6 separate regions of the Homo sapiens genome follow, and regions 2, 3, 4, 5 and 6 are each linked to region 1. The links are contacts of gene promoters, found by promoter capture Hi-C in human tissues and cell types (Jung and others, 2019). All regions are on one chromosome and are shown on one strand. Each heading gives the region's core, a stretch centred on a gene start or on the middle of the fragment in contact. The rest is flanking DNA. Distances are from core to core; before and after follow the strand shown. Region 1 holds the start of SULT4A1 (sulfotransferase family 4A member 1). Region 2 overlaps LOC105373053 (a long non-coding RNA gene). Region 3 overlaps MPPED1 (metallophosphoesterase domain containing 1). Region 4 overlaps MPPED1 (metallophosphoesterase domain containing 1). Region 5 overlaps EFCAB6-AS1 (EFCAB6 antisense RNA 1). Region 6 overlaps EFCAB6 (EF-hand calcium binding domain 6).

Region 1 (2,897 bases), core at 208-2,707:
TAGCCATTCCTAAAGCATTTTAGGTCCCACCCCATGCGGCGACTGGCATGTGCTCAAGATAGCAGCCCATCGAACGCTCTGTTCTCCAACCAACACCCTCCACTGAGAGTCCCTACTCCAATCTTCCTCAGAAGAATGTCAGAGACCTGCCCTCAGGTGTCTGGAACTCCATACAGCTACAACAGCCAAGCCTACAGCTTTTCCTGAAACTGCCCGACTGCTGGTCCGGCGTGACCTTAGAGCCAGACACCTTCTAAACCACGCTGTGATTGCCTCAAATACAGTGGCAACAAGGAAATCCCAGGGCATGTTTACAGAACAGGAAAGCTGCTACCTCCTTTCCCTAAAAACCTCAGATGGGGTACTATACAATCTCCTACCTCAGGTCTGGAAACAGACCAGCCTAGCTTTAATTCCCAGGTCAGCCACTCACCAGCTGAGTGACCTTGGACCAGCCTCTTCCCCTCTCTGAGCCTCTGTGCCTAGACTGTAAAGTGGGAATGACCACCACTAGCTCACACAGCTGTTATTGTGAAAGTGACGTCAGCTAATGCTGGGAAATGTGAATGCCCCAGGTCCTGCCTCGGTGATGGAGGCAGCCCTGAAACAAGAGAATGTACAAGCAAGGCACTCCAGGCGGGGACTGGTCCCATCCCCCACCCGGAGCCCAGGCTGGAAAGGAGGGACGTTACGTTTCCACGCTGAAAGCCCTGACGCCCATGTTATCTCCCTTCCCAGGTGAACACCAGGACTTTGCACTCATCAAAGGTTGGGCAGGATTCAGGAACAGAGAGGTTGAGTGACCTGTCCAAGGTCACACAGCCAGCCAGGTAAAGGGAGAAGCAGGGATGGGTGGCGGCCCTGGGCCCATCCTCCTGCAGCGCCGGCCAAATAGGCTCCATCTCCACGGAAGGGGCCGCTCCCGAAGGTCTCTGACCTTGGTTTCCCCAGATGAGAACCAAGCCCCTTCCCACCCCCACCCCACCCCACCCCGCCCCGCAGGGATCCGAGCATCGGGAGAGCGGTGGGCACGGCAGGGGCGGAGGCCAAGGGCGACCACCCGGCCCAGCAGAAGCCCCGGGCGCGGGCGCGGCGTCTACGCGGCCGCGCTGCAGGGCTGGGGCATGGCGTGGCGGGCGCGGTCGGCGCGGGGCTCACCGGACTTGGGGTAGGTGACGATCCACACGTCGCTGGGCCGCACCGGGAAGTTGGCGATCTCCTCCATCTTCCCGCGGCAGAAGGGCGGCAGCCGCACGCCATGGAACTCGAAGTACTTGCTCTCGAACTCCCCCGGGGTGCTGGGGGTCTCGGCCTCGCTCTCCGCCATGCCGCCGCCGTCGCCGTCGCCGCCGCCGCCTCCCGGCTCGCAGCCCGCACGCGCCCGCGCCCGCGCCCGCGCCCGCGCCCCGCACACGCTCGCGCCCCACCGGCGCGCGGCGGCAGCTCCGCAGGCGTGACGTCATGGCGCCGCCGACGCGCGGCGGAGGCTCCGCGGGTATGACGTCATGGCGCCGCCCGGCACGCGGCCGCGGCGCTGCACGGGCGTGACGTCATGGCGCCGCGGAGCCGCGTCCTCCCCGCCCCGCCCCCGGCCGGGGTCACCCACCCGCTGCCGGGGCTGACAGAGACCCTGGCCCGCGGTCTGCAGCCTCCTCAGTCGTGCGTGCGTTCATTCCGCTCATAGCTTCTGTCACTCAGCAAGCGCTCAACACAGACGCATGAGATACCCTGGCTGGAAGGCCCTGAAAGGTAGTCGTCCATTCAACACGTGCTTAGCGCGCTGCTGATCTGTGCCAGGCACTGGGCCAGGGCCCCGACACGCGTCAGGGTAGAAGCAAGCAGAAGCCTGGCCCTGTTGGAGCTTACATTGGTAAATAACCAAGATAATTTCAGGTAAATATTAGGTCCTATTAAAAATATGCGTCTTCGCCAGGCGCGGTGGATCACGCCTGTAATCTCAGCACTTTGAGAGGTCGAGCACGGGCGGATCTCCTGAGGTCAAGAGTTCGAGACCAACCTGGGTAAATGGTGAAACCGCATCTCTACAAACATACAAAAAAAAAAATTAGCAGTGAGCTGTGAGCTTGCACCACTGCACTCCAGTCTGGGCAACAGGACGAGATCTTCTAACAACAACAAAAAAAAAGTATGGGCCACCTAGTCCAGCCAAAAAAACAAAGTGCTTTTTTTTTGCTTTTTTTTTTTTTTTTTTTTTTTTGAGATGGAGTCTCGCTGTGTCGCCCAGGCTGGAGTGCAGGGGCGCGATCTCAGCTCACTGCAAGCTCCACCTCCCGGGTTTACGCCATTCTCCTGGCTCAGCCTCCCGAGTAGCTGGGACTACAGGCACATGCCACCATGCCTGGCTAATTTTTTGTATTTTTTGTTTGTTTGTTTTAGTAGAGACGGGGTTTCATCGTGTTAGCCAGGATGGTCTCAATCTCCTGACCTCGTGATCTGCCCACCTTGGCCTCCCAAAGTGCTGGGATTACAGGTGTGAACCACCTCGCCCAGCCAAAAAGTGCTTCTTAATATCCCATGAGTAGGGGAGGGGAGTGTTGGATTGCAAATTCCAGGACCCCAGATCTATGGAGAAAAATTACAAAAATATACATTTAGTAAGGCACTTCTTGTGCAAACTATAATTTGAGAGCAACCGAGTTCTAGAGATCTCAGTGCAACCCCTTGCCAGTCATGCACTCAACAGACATATATGAAGCACCTACTAACATGCCTGGGGAAGCACAAAGATGAAAACAACACAGCCTGCTCTCATTCTCTGCAGCCGAGCATCATCAGCTGTGTAAAGGAAAAGAATGATTCCTACCTCTAAGTAGTGTAGCCAGGAAGATGGAAGGAGTTTACACCAACAAGAATCTGGAGCAGAGTGGCTGGACGGG
Region 2 (2,897 bases), core at 171-2,670, 480 kb before region 1:
ACTTAATACATTAATTTAGTAGTTTAAAATCTTCCTATAAAGAAAACGTCTGTCCCAGATGACAATTCCAGATATGTGAATTTGGAATTCACCAAATTAATAGCCCAGCTCTCTCTGGAAGATGGTGGGATGAACCAAATCCTAATTTGGCTAAACAGTCAAAGAACAAATCAGTTCAAGCTTACCCAAATTTCTACTCCACAGTGGAGAAACACAGTCAACACTTACCAGTTTACCTTATTCGGTTAGCATAAGCTGGCTAATCAGATGATGACAGTACAATAAAGAAAACTTTCAAGTCAATTTTACCCATGAGCATAGATTCCAAGAATTCTTGAAAATTATTAGCACAGTGAATTCAGCAATAATAATAAAAAATACAGTACAGGCCGGGTGCAGTGGCTCACGCCTATAATCCCAGCACTTTGGGAGGCCGAGGCAGGTGAATTGCCCGAGCTCAGGAGATTGAGACCACCTGGGCAACATGGTAAAACCCGTCTCTACTAAAAATACAAAAAATTAGCCAGGTGTGGTGGCAGGCGCCTGTAGTCCCAGCTACTTGGGAGACTGAGGCAGGAGAATCTCTTGGACCCTGGAGGCAGAGGTTGCAGTGAGCCGAGATCGTGCCACTGCACTCCAGCCTGGGCTACAGAGTGAGACTCCATCTCAAAGAAAAAAAAAACAAAAACAAAAAACCCCAGCATATTATGATGAAGTTATGTTTATCTTATGAATGCAATTCCTATTATTAGGAAATTAATTAATATAATTCATTCCATTAACAGCTTAAAGAAAAAACACATAATCATTGCAATAGGACCTGGGTGACATCAGGCACTATTGTTCACCTGGTTGAGGTTTGGGAGACTTTACGACTTATACTGTGGGCAGGAGATAGTGGAGGGGCCCCGTCTATGGGAATCGGGTGGGAAACTGAGAAGGGTGTGCATGGAAGTGGCAATGATTATGAATCTGGCTTTGGACAAAATAGGATAGGAGGTAGTACTCTACGCGCCCCCTTCCTGCTTTTTGGGGCCTGGAGAGGAAACCCAAGTTATCTAAATGGCTTGACTCTTCCTCTCCCTCTGCCCACACCCACCCCCATCTCGCTATCTCACTGTAAGTCTCTTCTGTGATTATTATCACCTGGGGGTTGCAACCTCCAAAGCCTACAGTGGCCAGACAGGTGGCAAAAATGTATAACGTGGGCTGAGCGTAAAAAATATTAGATATTACACAGTTTACATATAATGCATTTTGGTTGCATGCTTCTTAAAAATTGCCTTCTGTCACCTGAAGAAAATTGTTTCTGATTTTTTTTCTTCAAATAGGCAGACTTCTCTGCCCAGCTTTCTTTCCTGCACACTTGATGGGGCAAGGAAATACTCCCTCGCTGTAAAAAGCACATCAGTGAAGCCCAGTGCTCGACAGCAGCTGACCTGGGCCCCCAGAGCTGGGGATGCAGCAGGGAGCGGTGAAGCCTGTAGCAAACTGAAGAGTGTGTGTCCCAATCCGAAATCACAGCCCAGATGTAGTTCAAGGCAATTTTTGTCATCTTAAAAAACGGGCCTGGGGAGAATCCACAGAGTTTGGTGATGAGTTGGATGGGAGATGTGGGGTTAAGGAGCTCAGAGAAGTTTTGGGAGATGCCAGGTTTCAGGCTGGGGGTCTCTGTGCAGTGGTGCCTCCCACTGACAGAAGACAGAGAGGGAAGGGCAATGGCTTTGGACAAACTGAGTTTGCAACTGGCTGTAGGACATCCTGGGGGCTGTCGTGGGTGGGTCAGGGCTCCAGGAGGCAGCCCATTCTCTCTGGAAGACGGTGGGACGAACCAATACGGCCTCTGAGTCTGACTCTGCGTCTACCTCAGGCAAATTGCGTCAGCCTCTGGAGTCTCCTTTTCTTCTGCACGGAGGCAGTGATACCATGAAGCCTCCACTTCTGTGAAATGGAGACTTGGACCTGGTCAGTGGTTCCGTGCTTCTTTTGATTATTCGCCGCACCCCAGCCTGGCAGAGGCACTTGATGTTATCCGGAGCCTGGGCTGCCTGGGTGGGGACACAAGCCTCCATTTCACAGAAGAAGTGGAGTCTTTCATGCACCAAGGCAGCGGAGGGGGCAGGACACAGCCTGGGCCCCTCGCAGACCCTAGAGGTCCCCGACGTGGCCCCTTCCTCCTCTGAGCCTTGCTGGCTGCAACCGCCCAGTCGTTCTCAGCAGGGATGGAAGAAGCCTCAGTGCGAAGCCCGGCGATGGCCGGGGCGCTGCTGCCCTCGTGTGGCCGACATGGAGAGGTGCCGGTTATGATGAGCAGGGAGTGATTTTCTGGCGAAACGCGGCCGCACGGCTCAGGCTGTTCCACTGACAAACTGCAGCTGACTCTCCCTGTTGACCGGGGTTTGATTCCAGCACTGCCCAGCTGGAACCCAGCACTGCGTGACACTGGGAATGTCTCTTTTCTGGGCCTCAGTTTCCCCAGCTGGAAAATGATGGAAGCAGGGGTTTTATGGGGGCTAAGTGAAGTCACGGATGTGAGAGTACCAAGCATTGTGCAAGGTGGTTGGTGTGTGCACGGTCCAAATTTGCCCATCCAGTCTTTCTTTCTCTTTCTTACTCTTTCTTTCTTTCTCTCTCTTTCTTTCTTTTCTTTCTTTCTTCTTTCTTTCTTTTCCTTCCTTTTCTTTCTTCTTTCTTTTCCTTCCTTCCTTCCTTCCTCCCTCCCTCCCTCCCTCCCTCCCTCTTTCTTTCTTCTTCTTTTCTTTCTTTCTTTCTTTCTCTTTCTTTTCTCTCTCTCTTTCCTTTCTTTCTTTGTTTTCTTTCTTTCTTCTTTCTTCCTTTTCCTTCCTTCCTCCCTCCCTCCCTCTTTCTTTCTTCTTTCTTTCTTTCTTCCTTTCTTT
Region 3 (2,897 bases), core at 298-2,797, 420 kb before region 1:
CCACTTGGTGGAGTCAAGAGGCCGTTTCCAGGGCAGAGAGGCTGGAGTCGCTGTGGGCCAAGCCCCCGCTGTGTGCCAGGCACGGGGTGGCAGGCTCTTACCACCTCTGCCTTGTTGAATTTGGGAACAGCTACTTGAGGTGGCTACCATTTGCGTCCCTATTTGACAGAGGAGAATGGAGGTTCTGAAGGGTGGGGACTGTCTCTCACACACAGCCTGGCTTTCCAGGTGCCCATGATGGGTGGAAAGTGTGAACTTACAACTTGTAAAGGGGTCTTCCTTTTACAAAAGGTTCTTTCCCTCAGGCCTCGCCCCTTTGCTGCCTGGAAGTGTTTGCAGATGTCAGGACCCTCACTCAAGGAGGAATGGGCTTCAGACTGAGGGAGGAGGAGCATTTGCATGGGGGTGAGAGCATGAATCGAAGCCCATTTGCTGCTGGTATTTTGGGAACTCACCCACTGCACAAAGCGAGACACCTTGGTTGGCCGGTGGGCCAGGTCCCCAGAGTTTGGTGATCATGGCTGAGAGATGGACTGTGCACCTATTTGGTGCGTTTGGACAGGGTCGTTTTTTCTATGAAGCTCAGGTTTACTGAGCATTTAGTATGTGCTGGGTGCTGTTCTATACCCTTCGCATGTATTAGTAACTCATTTAATCCTCCTGACAATGAGGCAGGAACTATTATCATTCCCATTTTACAGAGGAGAAAACCAAGTCCCAGAGAAGTGAAGCCACTTACCCAAAGTCACACAGCTTGTAAATGGCAGAACTGGGCAGTGGGACCCCAGTGCTGAACTCTTGGTATAGCTCTGTGTTGCCTCTCCTTCTTGAGGTGAAGCCTCCCTAATTGGAAGTAAGGGTGTGGACGATGCTGATTGGAAGTAAGGGTGTAGGCGATGCATTTGGAGTCTGGATCTGCTTCCTGCCTGGGTGACCACAGCAGCCACGTGGCCCCTCTGGGCCTCATTTTAAAAGGGGGCGGTTAGGCTCCCCTGCCTCGCATCCCTCCAAATGTTGTTTTGAGGCTCTGTTGGAATGGAGGAAAGAATCACCTTGCAAAATGTAAAGTGCTGTATACCTGTTATGATTGCCCCCATGAACTGGCGTCTACCAGATCTGGGCTCCCCTGGGTAGGGGTGGGGTGTTGGGAGGAAGACATTGGACCTGAACCTTGAGGTTGAGTTGGCAGGGAAGGCAGTGGAACAACACATGTGTTACAGCATGTGGAGTTCCTGAGAGATGTGGACGTGTAGTCTCAGCTAGCAACCGCCCTCCCAACAGCAGACACAGAGAAAAAGAGACTGGAAAGAAACATTCCGTCATCCTATTGCTGAGCCTCACTGAGAGCCCACGAGGTGCCAGGTGTGTCGCAAGCCCTGGGGTAACAGTAGGCCCTGAGCACACAGGGCCCCACTCAGCCTGATGCGAGGGGACGGTGGCTTCATAGCCATGAGGGCGGCACGGGAGCCATTCATTAGAGAGAGCTATGGGGTCTGTCTGGGACCCACCTGGGGACGTGTGGTGATGGCCATTCAGCTGGGTGGGCACGGAAGGCCTCCCTGAGGAGGGGATGTTGGGCCAGGCCTGAGGGTGAGAATGAGGCAGCCTTGTGCAGCTCTGGGCAGGACCCGTTCCAGGCAGAGGACGCGGAGGCTGCAGGGGCCCTGGGGTGGGAGCAGAGAGCACTAGGAGTGTTGGGAAGTGGGAGAAGCAGGGCAGTGGGGCAGGCACTGGTCCACACAGGCCTCCTGGGCCTCGGACAAGAGTGTGGGGCTGATCCTAAGGGCAGGGGGAGCTTTGGGAAGGTTTTTGTATGGGGATGACCTTTAGAAAGCTTTTCAAAGGCCATGATGGATTGTAGAACCAGAGTGTACCTGGTGAGGGCTAAAGCTCCAGAATGTTCCAGAGTCGATGTCTGGGTGGTGGGCTCATGGGGTTTTACCTTCTTCTTTAGGATTGTCTCTCTCTCTCTCTGTGTCTGATTTTCTATAGGGGAGGGGTGTGTTTTTCTGGTAATTTCAAACAAAGGCAACGCTCCTGGGTGTCTGGTGCCAAGTGTGTCACAGAAGGGATGGGACAGCGCTGGGCCTTGGGTCAATCCTGGCCGCTCAAGGGCCTCCATGAGCCCCTTCCCCAGCCGACAGGGCGGGAGACCTTTGCACACCCACCTCATCACCTTGCCCACCTCGCCCACCCACTGGCTCAGCCCCTTCTCCTGGATGAGAAAGTTATAGATTTGAAATTCACAACTTGCTCCTTCCCTGTTCATTGATCTCATGGAAAGCATTTGAAATCATATTCTGGGAGCCACCTCCAGACAGACAGGAAGAGATTTAAAAAATTAATAAAGACCTACCGTATAAGACAAGACAAGACATCTAACGGGGCTCTGCGTGGTTAAATTCCTGCGGACTCTAACTTGCTGTGAGGTGCGTTGCTGTCAGCTCGGCTGTGACTGGTGTCTATGCATTGCCCGTTTGCCGGCTTCTAGCTGGGTCTGCGTTCATGGGAGGGGGACGGGTTGGGATGAAAGAGTCCCTCTGAGCAGCCCCTTTTCCCCCTTGGCCATTAATATCCCAAATGTATTCATGAAATAGAAGTGGCAGCTTGATTTGTAAATGTCGAGTAAGCAGCTAAAAGATGGATAAGGACAAGTTCTCCAGCTATAAAGAGTGAACGCAAAAGCAAAACTTGCTGAAAATGGCAAAGAATGTGCAGGTGGTTCCTTGCTCCTCACCAGCCACAGGGAGCTCACAGCCTGGATGGATCAGTCAGCAGTGCCAGTGCAGGGAGGTGGGGCGGCTGGAGGCCAGGCAGCTGTCTTCACCCCTGTTTCCTCCTCTTTGCTGTGTTACCTCAGTCCAGTCTCTCAACCTCTCTGTGCCTCACTTGTAGAA
Region 4 (2,897 bases), core at 263-2,762, 390 kb before region 1:
TCCGCCCAATCCCCAGTAGTCGGGAGCTGCAGAAATAAATGAAACTGTACAGTTGGAGTAATTTGCTAATTTGCTTCAGTAACACCCCCAGTCAAAGACATGACATAAATACATGAGCACTGGCTCTGCACCCCCAGCTTGGGCTGCAGGATGGATGGGTGATGTGAAGTGGAAATGTGGTGAATCAGAGCCCGAAGGCAGCGATGGTGGCCACCCCCAACCCGAGCTGGGGGCTCTGGCTGCCTCCCTGCTGCAGTGTGTTTGGGGAGGGGCTCGATGAGGGGTCTGCTGGCCTTGGAGGAGTCTGAGGTGCCCGTCTAGAGGGGTGGGGTCAGCTGGACCAGCGTCCCCCTCCACAGCCGTGGGGCCTGGGTGGGTTTCCCAGCCTTTGAGCCTCATTCTGCTCAGCTGCAAAGAGGAGATAATAAAACCAAGTACCTTGGGGGTGCTCTAGGGAAATGAGATCTCAGCTCTCCACCAGCGGTCCAGAAGTGGCCATCTTTCCTGCTGTGTCCTCCCGGACCCACTACCAGCTGCTCAGGCCCACGCAGCCCTCTTCCCTCCTCTCCGCAGCCTGAGCCTCACTGGAGAGGGCTTCTCTGTACCATGCCTGGTCGCACTGTGGGGCTGTGGGAGGCTTCATTCGCCAGACTCCTGCTGGGGCCTGCTAGGGACAGAGCTGGGGGAAGCAAACACGCCTGCATCCATGTTCTTGGAGCTCTCCCATGAGCACAGCAAGCAGAGTTCCCAGCGTCCATCAGGGTGGGCTCTGATGTACAAGAGGAGGGTCAGGGAGGTGGAAGGGGCTTGTAGAATCTCATCCCAGCAGCCTGACTGGAAGAACCTCGGGCCAGGGCCAGGCTGTTCCCTTCATGTCCCCAGGGACAGAAACCCAAATGCCTGTTAAGAGTGGGCGGTACCTTCAAATGAATGAAGTGGACTGGGTGTGAGACGGTAGGGACAGGTGGGGATTGGGGCCAGCTGGACGCATTCATCCTGTCCAAGGGGACACAGACACTCAGCACTTCCTGACTGGACCAGTTAAATTGTATTTATTTCTTTATTTTTAGAAAACAGAAGTAATGAAATGTTATTAGGAATCTCTCAAATTTTTGATGTTGGCAACAAATTCAAGTTTTAAAAAAAAGTTGTGCCAAACAAAATATGTCTGTGGATGGGTCTGGCCTGCCTGCTTCTAGTTTGCAAACTCTGGCCCAGGGAAGCTCTTTGGTTTTTTTGAACATCAAAATTTTGTACATTTCCATTGATTATCTTCTATAATATCAGAACAGTCCTGCAAGGTCGCTGTTACTTTTCTCATTTTACAGGTAAGGAAACTGAGGCACAGGGAAGCTAAGTCGTACAGCGGGTTGGTGGCAGAGTGGGTCTGGGATCCAGGCTGCTGGAGCTGAGATTCTGTGGCCTGCTAAGTACCAGTGGCCCCCATGTACCAGTGGTCCCCCGCCCCAGAGTTGATAAATCCCGAAGAAGAAAGAGCAGTGCTTTCTTTCTCAAACCTGTGAAGCAGTCTGAGGTGGTTGGTGAGTCAGCTATGAGTAGATTGGGATTTTCTGCCTGTTCTGAAGAAAACTTCTGTCTCGCCTTGGGGTTCCCTTTCTTACCGCCCTGGCCCACCCTCCCTGGCCAGGCTGGGACCTGGCCATTTGCCGTGGCCATAGGGCACGTGGTTAGACAGACGGCACAGGTCTCATCTAGCTGGGGGTAGAGAAGAAGCTTATAACGGGGCACTGGACCCTTCTATTTCCTTGCTATTAGGATATAATAATGGCTGTAGTTATAGGACATGTACTGCTGTAAACCTCACTCTACCCTTCCCTGGAGCTCACGTAAGGGCTGGGGAGGCGAGCTCTTCCTAGAGTGCTTCCTGAGAGCTGAGTGTGATGGCACATCTTCCGAGTCTCAGCCCATATTGCAAGCATCCGTTTCCAATAAGAAAAACAATCCTTAGTATTTGGAGCAGAGGCATTTCTGGAATTTGGTTCCCCATGGAATGCTCACACAGCGGAAGAGGTAGAGTTTTTGGTCATGGTGGAAAAGGCTCTGCTGTTCCTGGGCTGCTGTGTTGTCCCAGGGGACAGACCACGGTGCCCGTGCTGCTGGGCATTGCCCCGGGAGGGTGAGGAGTGAAGGGGGTGTCAGGGGCTCATTGGAGCCTGATGGCCAGACAAGTGTTCTGGCACCTTGCCCTGTGTGTGCTTTAGCAGATGAAGGTCATGGTCTTCCAGGGATAGAGGGGATGCCTCGCGAGGTGTCGGTCTTTGTTAGCCACAGTTACTGCTTTGTGAACTGGTTATGGAATGTCACCATTTTCCTGTCTGGGTCCCCATCCACCCCGAGGCCCCTGTGCTGTGCTGGCGTCTTTGCTACTTGCCTGACCCTCCAGGTCACTCTCGGCCCAGGAGGGGCCAGGAGAAAGGCTTGGGTCTCCAAGTGCACTTTCAACATTTCATTTTTTATCCAAATCAGGGCTTACAGGTACCATCTTGACTCTCCAGGCCCATGAGTGCCCAGCAGCTGAGGCTGGTGGGGAGTGGGGAGTCAGGGGCCCAAGCCTGGGGTCAGGCTGGCTCTCAGATGGAGTAGGGGGCAGGGGCGAGTGGCGTTTACTGAGACCGAACAGCTGTGGTGGTCTTGCGCCTGCATAGAGCCAGCCTGGTGGGTGAGGCCTGCCGGGCAGCTGCCGAGAAACCAGCCCCCAGCCAGTCTCTCTTGGGTGACAGTGCACACTCCTGCCTAGGGCATCCAGAAAACTGGACCCCAGAGAGAGAAAGATGTGTACCTTGGAAGAACTACCCAAAAGTTCGCACACAGCAAAGCTGGAATGACACTATTGTAATTCAGTGGCTGTATACATAGACATTTTTGTTTTGATTCCA
Region 5 (2,897 bases), core at 269-2,768, 340 kb before region 1:
CACAATTACAATTTACTTATGGATTTGTCCACCCCTAACATACCTACGGCTTATTGCTCATCTTACCCTTGTGAGAAGCACAGTTTCCAGCCAGAGTGCGTGTCCACGTGCAGGCTTTTCATTTGCAGCTTTATGAAGTTACAGTGGTCAGTTCCTCCCCCATCGCCTTTCAGTGTGGCTAATGTCATCCGTTTGCAATACAGTTGGATTATTTTGTCCCTGGTCTGCTTTCCATCCTAGGATCCCCTGACCTCCTGGCTGATTACTTATTTGCATAAAGTGACGTTCACTCTCCATCATGTACCGTCCTGTGGGTTTTGACAAATGCATAGAACCCAGTATCTATTATCATATGATCATGGAGGACAGTTGTTCCATCACCCTAAAAATCCCCTTTTTCAGTCCCTGTGTAGTCAAACTGTTTCCAAAATGGCTGTATGAGCTTGCAGTCCTACCAGCCATGAATGTGTATTCCTGCTGATTCATATCATCACCAGAATTGATCTTATTTTTAAAAATTGTAGCCATTTGAGTGTGCATGTGGGTGTTTCACCATGGTTTTAATTTCTATTTTCCTAATGACTAATGATAAGCACATCCTTCTTGTGCTTATCATTCTCATCTATTCATTTGTGGGAGTCTGTTTAGATCTTTCATCTCTTTTTAAAAAAATCAGGTTGTTTGTTTTCTTGCTGTTGAGTTTTAAGAGTTCTTTATATTCTGGATACAAGTTTTTTTTTTTTTTTTCTTCCAGTCTGTGGGTTCTCTTTTTACTCTTTTAACAGTGTCTTTCTTAGAGCAAAATTTAAAAATTCTGATATAGTTCAATTTATCCATTTCTTCTTTTATAGCTCGTGCTTTTGGTGTCATATCTAAAAATCCATTTCCCATCTCCAAACCCAAGGTCATGTAGATTTTCTCTCATGCTTTCTTTTAGGAGTTTTTTTTTAGTTTTGTGTTTTACATTTAGGTCTACAATGCCTTTTTTCTTTCTTTCTTTTTTTTTTTTTTTTTTTGGAGTCTTGCTCTGTCACAGGCTGGAGTGCAGTGGCATGATCTCAGCTCACTGCAACCTCCGCCTCCCAGTTTTAAGTGATTCTTCTGCCTCAGCCTCCCAAGTAGCTGGGACTACAGGTGTGCACCACTATGTCCAGCTAATTTTGTATTTTTAGTAGAGATGGGGTTTCACCATATTGGTCAGGCTGTAATTTTTGTATTTTTAATGGAGGTGGGGTTTTGTCATGTTGGCCAGGCTGGTCTCGAACTCCTGACCTCAGGTGATCCGCCTGCCTCGGCATCCCAAAGTGCTGGGATTACAGGTGTGAGCCACCGCACCCGGCCTAAAACTGAATATTTTAAATAATGTAGTTTGGCAACTTTGGAAGTAAGATCCCGTCCCCTCCCCTGTCCCCTCCCCCTTCAATGCCCTGAAGGATTTGTTGCTGCTGCTTGTTGTAGTTGGCTTTGTTTGTTTAGTGACTCTTCCATGTGAATTCTTTAAGGTCTGCATTCTCTGTCATGTGTGGCCACGGAAATTTCCTTTCAGTTATTAGCTTAGTGGTCAGCTGATGATGAGACAGAGGTTTCCTTAAACACTTGGAACCAATAAATTTTTCAGTCCCGCTCACACCTGTAATCCCAGCACTTTGAGAGGCTGAGGTGGGCGGATCACCATCCTGTAGACCATCCTGGCCAACATGGTGAAACCCCGTCTCCACTAAAAATACCAAAATTAGCCGGCCGTGGTGGCACACGCCTGTAATCCCAGCTACTCGGGAGGCTGAGGCAGGAGAATCGCTTGAACCCGGGGAGGTTGCAGTGAGCCGACATCACGTCACTGCACTCCAGCCTGGTGACAGAGTGAGACTCCGTCTCACATAAATAAATAAATAAATAAAATAAAAATAAAAAATTTCCCAGTCTCTGCTGAAATGCTCTGAGTGCCTGTCAGGACGCACCTTCAACATTCAGCCAGGTGGCTGGCCACTCTGCATCAGCCTTCACTTTCTGCTGGTGCAGCAAGTCAGCCAGAGGTGAGAGTGTAGGGCCTTTTTAATGTCTTTTCTGAGCATGCTCACAACCCCGGGCATACACACAGCACTGTCTACATTTGTAGCTTTCTAGATTCTCAAGAAATATGTTGGTGTTTTTTAAGGCCTCCACGTGACATTTTATTTCCCAGCTTTTCCTTTTAAGCTTTCTGAGTAGCCTTTTGATTACCCCAGCTGTTATCCATTGCCTTAGGCGGCCACCAAGTTAAAACACTTTCTTGTTTTTGTTTTTTGTTTTGTTTTTTTTTTTTTTTTTTTACAAATACTCCCTCCTTAACTCTGGGAGAAAGGTTTTTTACACCTGGGCAAGCTCCGAGTTAGGCCCAAAACAGCCAGCCTTGCAAAGGGCATCTTTCAGGGATCCACCATGCAGGCCAAATAGCGACCATATTTTGGTGAAATAGGCTTTGAAGTTGCTCCAGCTCTGTTCTGCTCTGTGTGGTGACTATCACACTGAACTGGGAATGCAGGCTGTTATTTTCTAAGGCTGTTGGGGACCTGGAGAGTGGCTGGTTGGACTAGGGCAGTTAAAATGCCACAAGTCGGCTGGGTGCAGTGGCTCACACCTGTAATCCCAGCACTTTGGGAGGCTGAGGCAGGTGGATTATGTCAGGGGTTCGAGACCAGCCTGGCCAACGTGGTGAAACCCCATCTCTACTAAAAATACAAAAACTAGCCGGGCACGATGGCGCATGCCATAGTCCCAGCTACTTGGGAGGCTGAGGCAGGAGAATCACTTGGACCCGGGAGGTGGAGGTTGCAGTGAGCTGAGATGGCACCACTGCACTCCAGCCTGGGTGACAGGGCAAGACTCCGTCTCAGAAAAAAAAAAAAAAAAAAAAGCCA
Region 6 (2,897 bases), core at 249-2,748, 280 kb before region 1:
GGCTGGTGTCTCAAGACAGGAGTCTGACTTTGGGAGCAGCTGGGAGGAGGGATCAGGGGACCACCCTGACCCCACCCCTGTCCTTCACAACCAGGCTTGTGTGCTGAGGTTGCTGTCCTTTCCTGAGTCTCGGCCAGAGCCCGAGTGGCCTTGCATCATGAGAAGCTGCCCTGGGTCTGCACTGGAGCAGCGGGGGCACACGTTGTGAATCCTACAGTAGAGTAGTTAAACTGAAAAAGTGCAAAAATGTGCTATAAAAAGAAAGCACATTTTTTTCCATCTGTCGAAATAAAATCATTCATTTTTATTACACCAGGAAATCTGCATCCAGGGGTAGATTAAGATCTTTTTTAAAGGAAGAATTTAGCATGCCTGCAAACCCCACACCCTTGTAGTTAATTCTCATTCGGGGCTAATTAGGCACGCCCCATTGGCCCAACAGGGTGATGGCATATGTGTAATCAAATTAACCTTAAAACATCAGATAGCTTCACATTTTCATGTAGTTCATGGTAACATGAGGTAGCTGTGTACAGTGGGAAATCCCCTAGCCAGGAGTTGTTCTGGGAACCTGGGCTCTGCTGCCCACCATAAGTCCTGAACCTCTCTAAACTTTAGCTTCTTTACTGTAAAGATGGACTTAACTCAGAGGGCAGGTGTAAGTTTTCCTAAGTTTGCTGGAAAATGCCCCCATCCAGGTACCTGGCCCGTGGGGATCTCAAATGTTAAGGAGAACGATCATAAGAATGAACACAGACAACTGTGCCGCAGGGGCAATGGCAGCGGCAGGCTCAGGTGTGAAGAGGAGCCTCCTGCAAAGCTCAGCTGGCTGGGCTGCCCCTCCTCACTCCTTCCCTCCCCACATTTAATCCCTCACACCGCACCGGGACTCCGGAGCCCACCTTGCTTCCCTACACCAAGGAAATTGGGATGTGATTTACAAAAAAAAAAAAAAAAGTTTAAAATAGATCTCAGGAGTGGAGAGTGAGTGATTCCCACCTCCAAGAGTCTGATACCCTAAAAGGGTCACTAGCCTTGATTTCTTCAAAAGTCATGACACTAACTAAGGTCGATCCTCAGAAGAAGTCATGGGCAGTAGACATCACATCTCTAGTAAAGATCTTCAGGACTTCAATTCTTCAAACCACCTGGATTTGGAAAAGAAGGGCTGCGACAAGTCCATTTCCCCTTCCTCCTCAGGTTCTGGGCTCTGCTCCATAGTCCCTGTGTGACCCTGGGCAGGTTTATTCACGCTGAGCCTCAGTTTCCCCTCCTGTAGAGTGGAATCAGGAGCCCCACCTTGCAAGGTTATGATCAAAGAGAAAAAGACTCATGAACTCTCATTAGGGCTTGTGGCCCCCCAGCACCCTGGGAAGCCCTCTAGAGTGTGTGGAGCCAGGACTCTGTGACGTTAGAAGGGATGTTCACTGTGGGGATTGAGAGGTGTTGAGTGGATCTTTCAGTCTGGGTTGCTGTGGCTGTTTGGGCTCTGGGTGCCGGCTTCCCACAGGATGATTCCGACGCTGCCTTGTTCTCTTCGATGCCTGCCCTCTGCAGAAAGCATCTTCCCTTCTTGACGCTGACACACAGAAGCTCACCTGGGAGCACCACCTCACCAGGAGGCTGGTTCCAAGCACAATATCCAAGGACACCAGCACAGTCCACAGCATCAGTACTCCACACACACAAGCATCATTCCATACATGTAGGCATCATACCCTACACGCGGTCATCATTCCCTACGTGCAGGCATTATTCTGTACATGCAGGCATCATTCCATACACACAGGCATCATTCCCTACACACAGGCATTATTCCCTACAAGCAGGCATCATACCCTACACGCAGGCATCATTCCCTACATGCAGGCATCATTCCCTACACGCAGGCATCATTCCGTACATGCAGGCATCATTCCCTACACGCAGGCATCATTGTCTACATGCAAGCATCATTCCATACGTATAGGCATCATTCCGTACACGTAGGCATCATTGCTTACATGCAAGCATCATTCCATACACATAGGCATCATTCCGTACACGCAGGCATCATTCCGTACACGCAGGCATCATACCCTACATGCAGGCATCATTCCCTACACGCAGGCATCATTCCGTACATGCAGGCCTCATTCCCTACACGCAGGCATCATTGTCTACATGCAAGCATCATTCCATAAGTATAGGCATCATTCTGTACACGTAGGCATCATTGCTTACATGCAAGCATCATTCCATACACATAGGCATCATTCCGTACATGCAGGCATCATTCCCTACATGCAGGCATCATACCCTACATGCAGGCATCATTCCCTACATGCAGGCATTATTCCCTATACGCAGGCATTATTTCCTACAGATAGGCATCATTCTCTACACGCAGGTATCATTCCCTACACGCAGGTATCATTCCCTACACATAGGCATCATTCCCTACACGCAGGCATCATTCCCTGCATGCAGGCATCATTCTGTACATGCAGGCATCATTCCCTACATGCAAGCATCATTCCATACATATAGGCATCATTCTGTACATGTAGGCATCATTGCTTACCTGCAAGCATCATTCCATACACATAGGCATCATTCCGTACACGCAGGCATCATTCCCTACACGCAGGCATCATTCCCTACACGCAGGCATCATTCCCTGCATGCAGGCATCATTCCCTACATGCAAGCATCATTCCATACATATAGGCATCATTCCGTACACGTAGGCATCATTGCTTACATACAAGCATCATTCCATACACATAGGCATCATTCCATACATGCAGGCATCATTCCCTACACACAGGCATCATTCCGTACACGCAGGCATCATTCCCTACAGGCAAGCATCATTCCACACACGCAGGCATCATTCCCTACACGCAGGCATCATT

The links. Contacts are between HindIII fragments. The study calls those that stand out against the background at their distance.
Region 2: a contact is called between a fragment that was not itself captured here and the fragment with the promoter of SULT4A1 in region 1, in 3 of the 25 tissues and cell types used here (IMR-90 fibroblasts, dorsolateral prefrontal cortex and lymphoblastoid cells).
Region 3: a contact is called between a fragment that was not itself captured here and the fragment with the promoter of SULT4A1 in region 1, in 4 of the 25 tissues and cell types used here (dorsolateral prefrontal cortex, lymphoblastoid cells, mesendoderm cells and 1 more).
Region 4: a contact is called between a fragment that was not itself captured here and the fragment with the promoter of SULT4A1 in region 1, in 2 of the 25 tissues and cell types used here (H1 embryonic stem cells and dorsolateral prefrontal cortex).
Region 5: a fragment that was not itself captured here is called in contact with the fragment with the promoter of SULT4A1 in region 1 in 2 of the 25 tissues and cell types used here (lymphoblastoid cells and mesendoderm cells).
Region 6: a contact is called between a fragment that was not itself captured here and the fragment with the promoter of SULT4A1 in region 1, in 1 of the 25 tissues and cell types used here (mesendoderm cells).

The regions. Positions count from the first base shown.
Region 1 is chr22:43,861,056-43,863,952 of GRCh38, forward strand. It overlaps SULT4A1 (sulfotransferase family 4A member 1), which reads right to left and starts at 1,458. Exons shown (of 7, transcript NM_014351.4): 1 at 1,159-1,458. The coding sequence starts at 1,327. The HindIII fragment of the contact is 9,350 bases long and covers 1-2,897 here.
Region 2 is chr22:43,383,604-43,386,500 of GRCh38, forward strand. The region is part of intron 3 of LOC105373053 (a long non-coding RNA gene); the gene reads right to left. Among named protein-coding and RNA genes, the nearest start is that of LINC01639, 15 kb to the right of the region's middle. The HindIII fragment of the contact is 8,457 bases long and covers 1-2,897 here.
Region 3 is chr22:43,436,705-43,439,601 of GRCh38, forward strand. All of the region lies in intron 3 of MPPED1 (metallophosphoesterase domain containing 1), which reads left to right. Among named protein-coding and RNA genes, the nearest start is that of MPPED1, 26 kb to the left of the region's middle. The HindIII fragment of the contact is 8,662 bases long and covers 1-2,897 here.
Region 4 is chr22:43,471,105-43,474,001 of GRCh38, forward strand. All of the region lies in intron 3 of MPPED1 (metallophosphoesterase domain containing 1), which reads left to right. Among named protein-coding and RNA genes, the nearest start is that of EFCAB6-AS1, 44 kb to the right of the region's middle. The HindIII fragment of the contact is 4,534 bases long and covers 1-2,897 here.
Region 5 is chr22:43,520,413-43,523,309 of GRCh38, forward strand. The region is part of intron 2 of EFCAB6-AS1 (EFCAB6 antisense RNA 1); the gene reads left to right. Among named protein-coding and RNA genes, the nearest start is that of EFCAB6-AS1, 5.6 kb to the left of the region's middle. The HindIII fragment of the contact is 4,397 bases long and covers 1-2,897 here.
Region 6 is chr22:43,576,941-43,579,837 of GRCh38, forward strand. All of the region lies in intron 25 of EFCAB6 (EF-hand calcium binding domain 6), which reads right to left. Among named protein-coding and RNA genes, the nearest start is that of EFCAB6-AS1, 62 kb to the left of the region's middle. The HindIII fragment of the contact is 8,969 bases long and covers 1-2,897 here.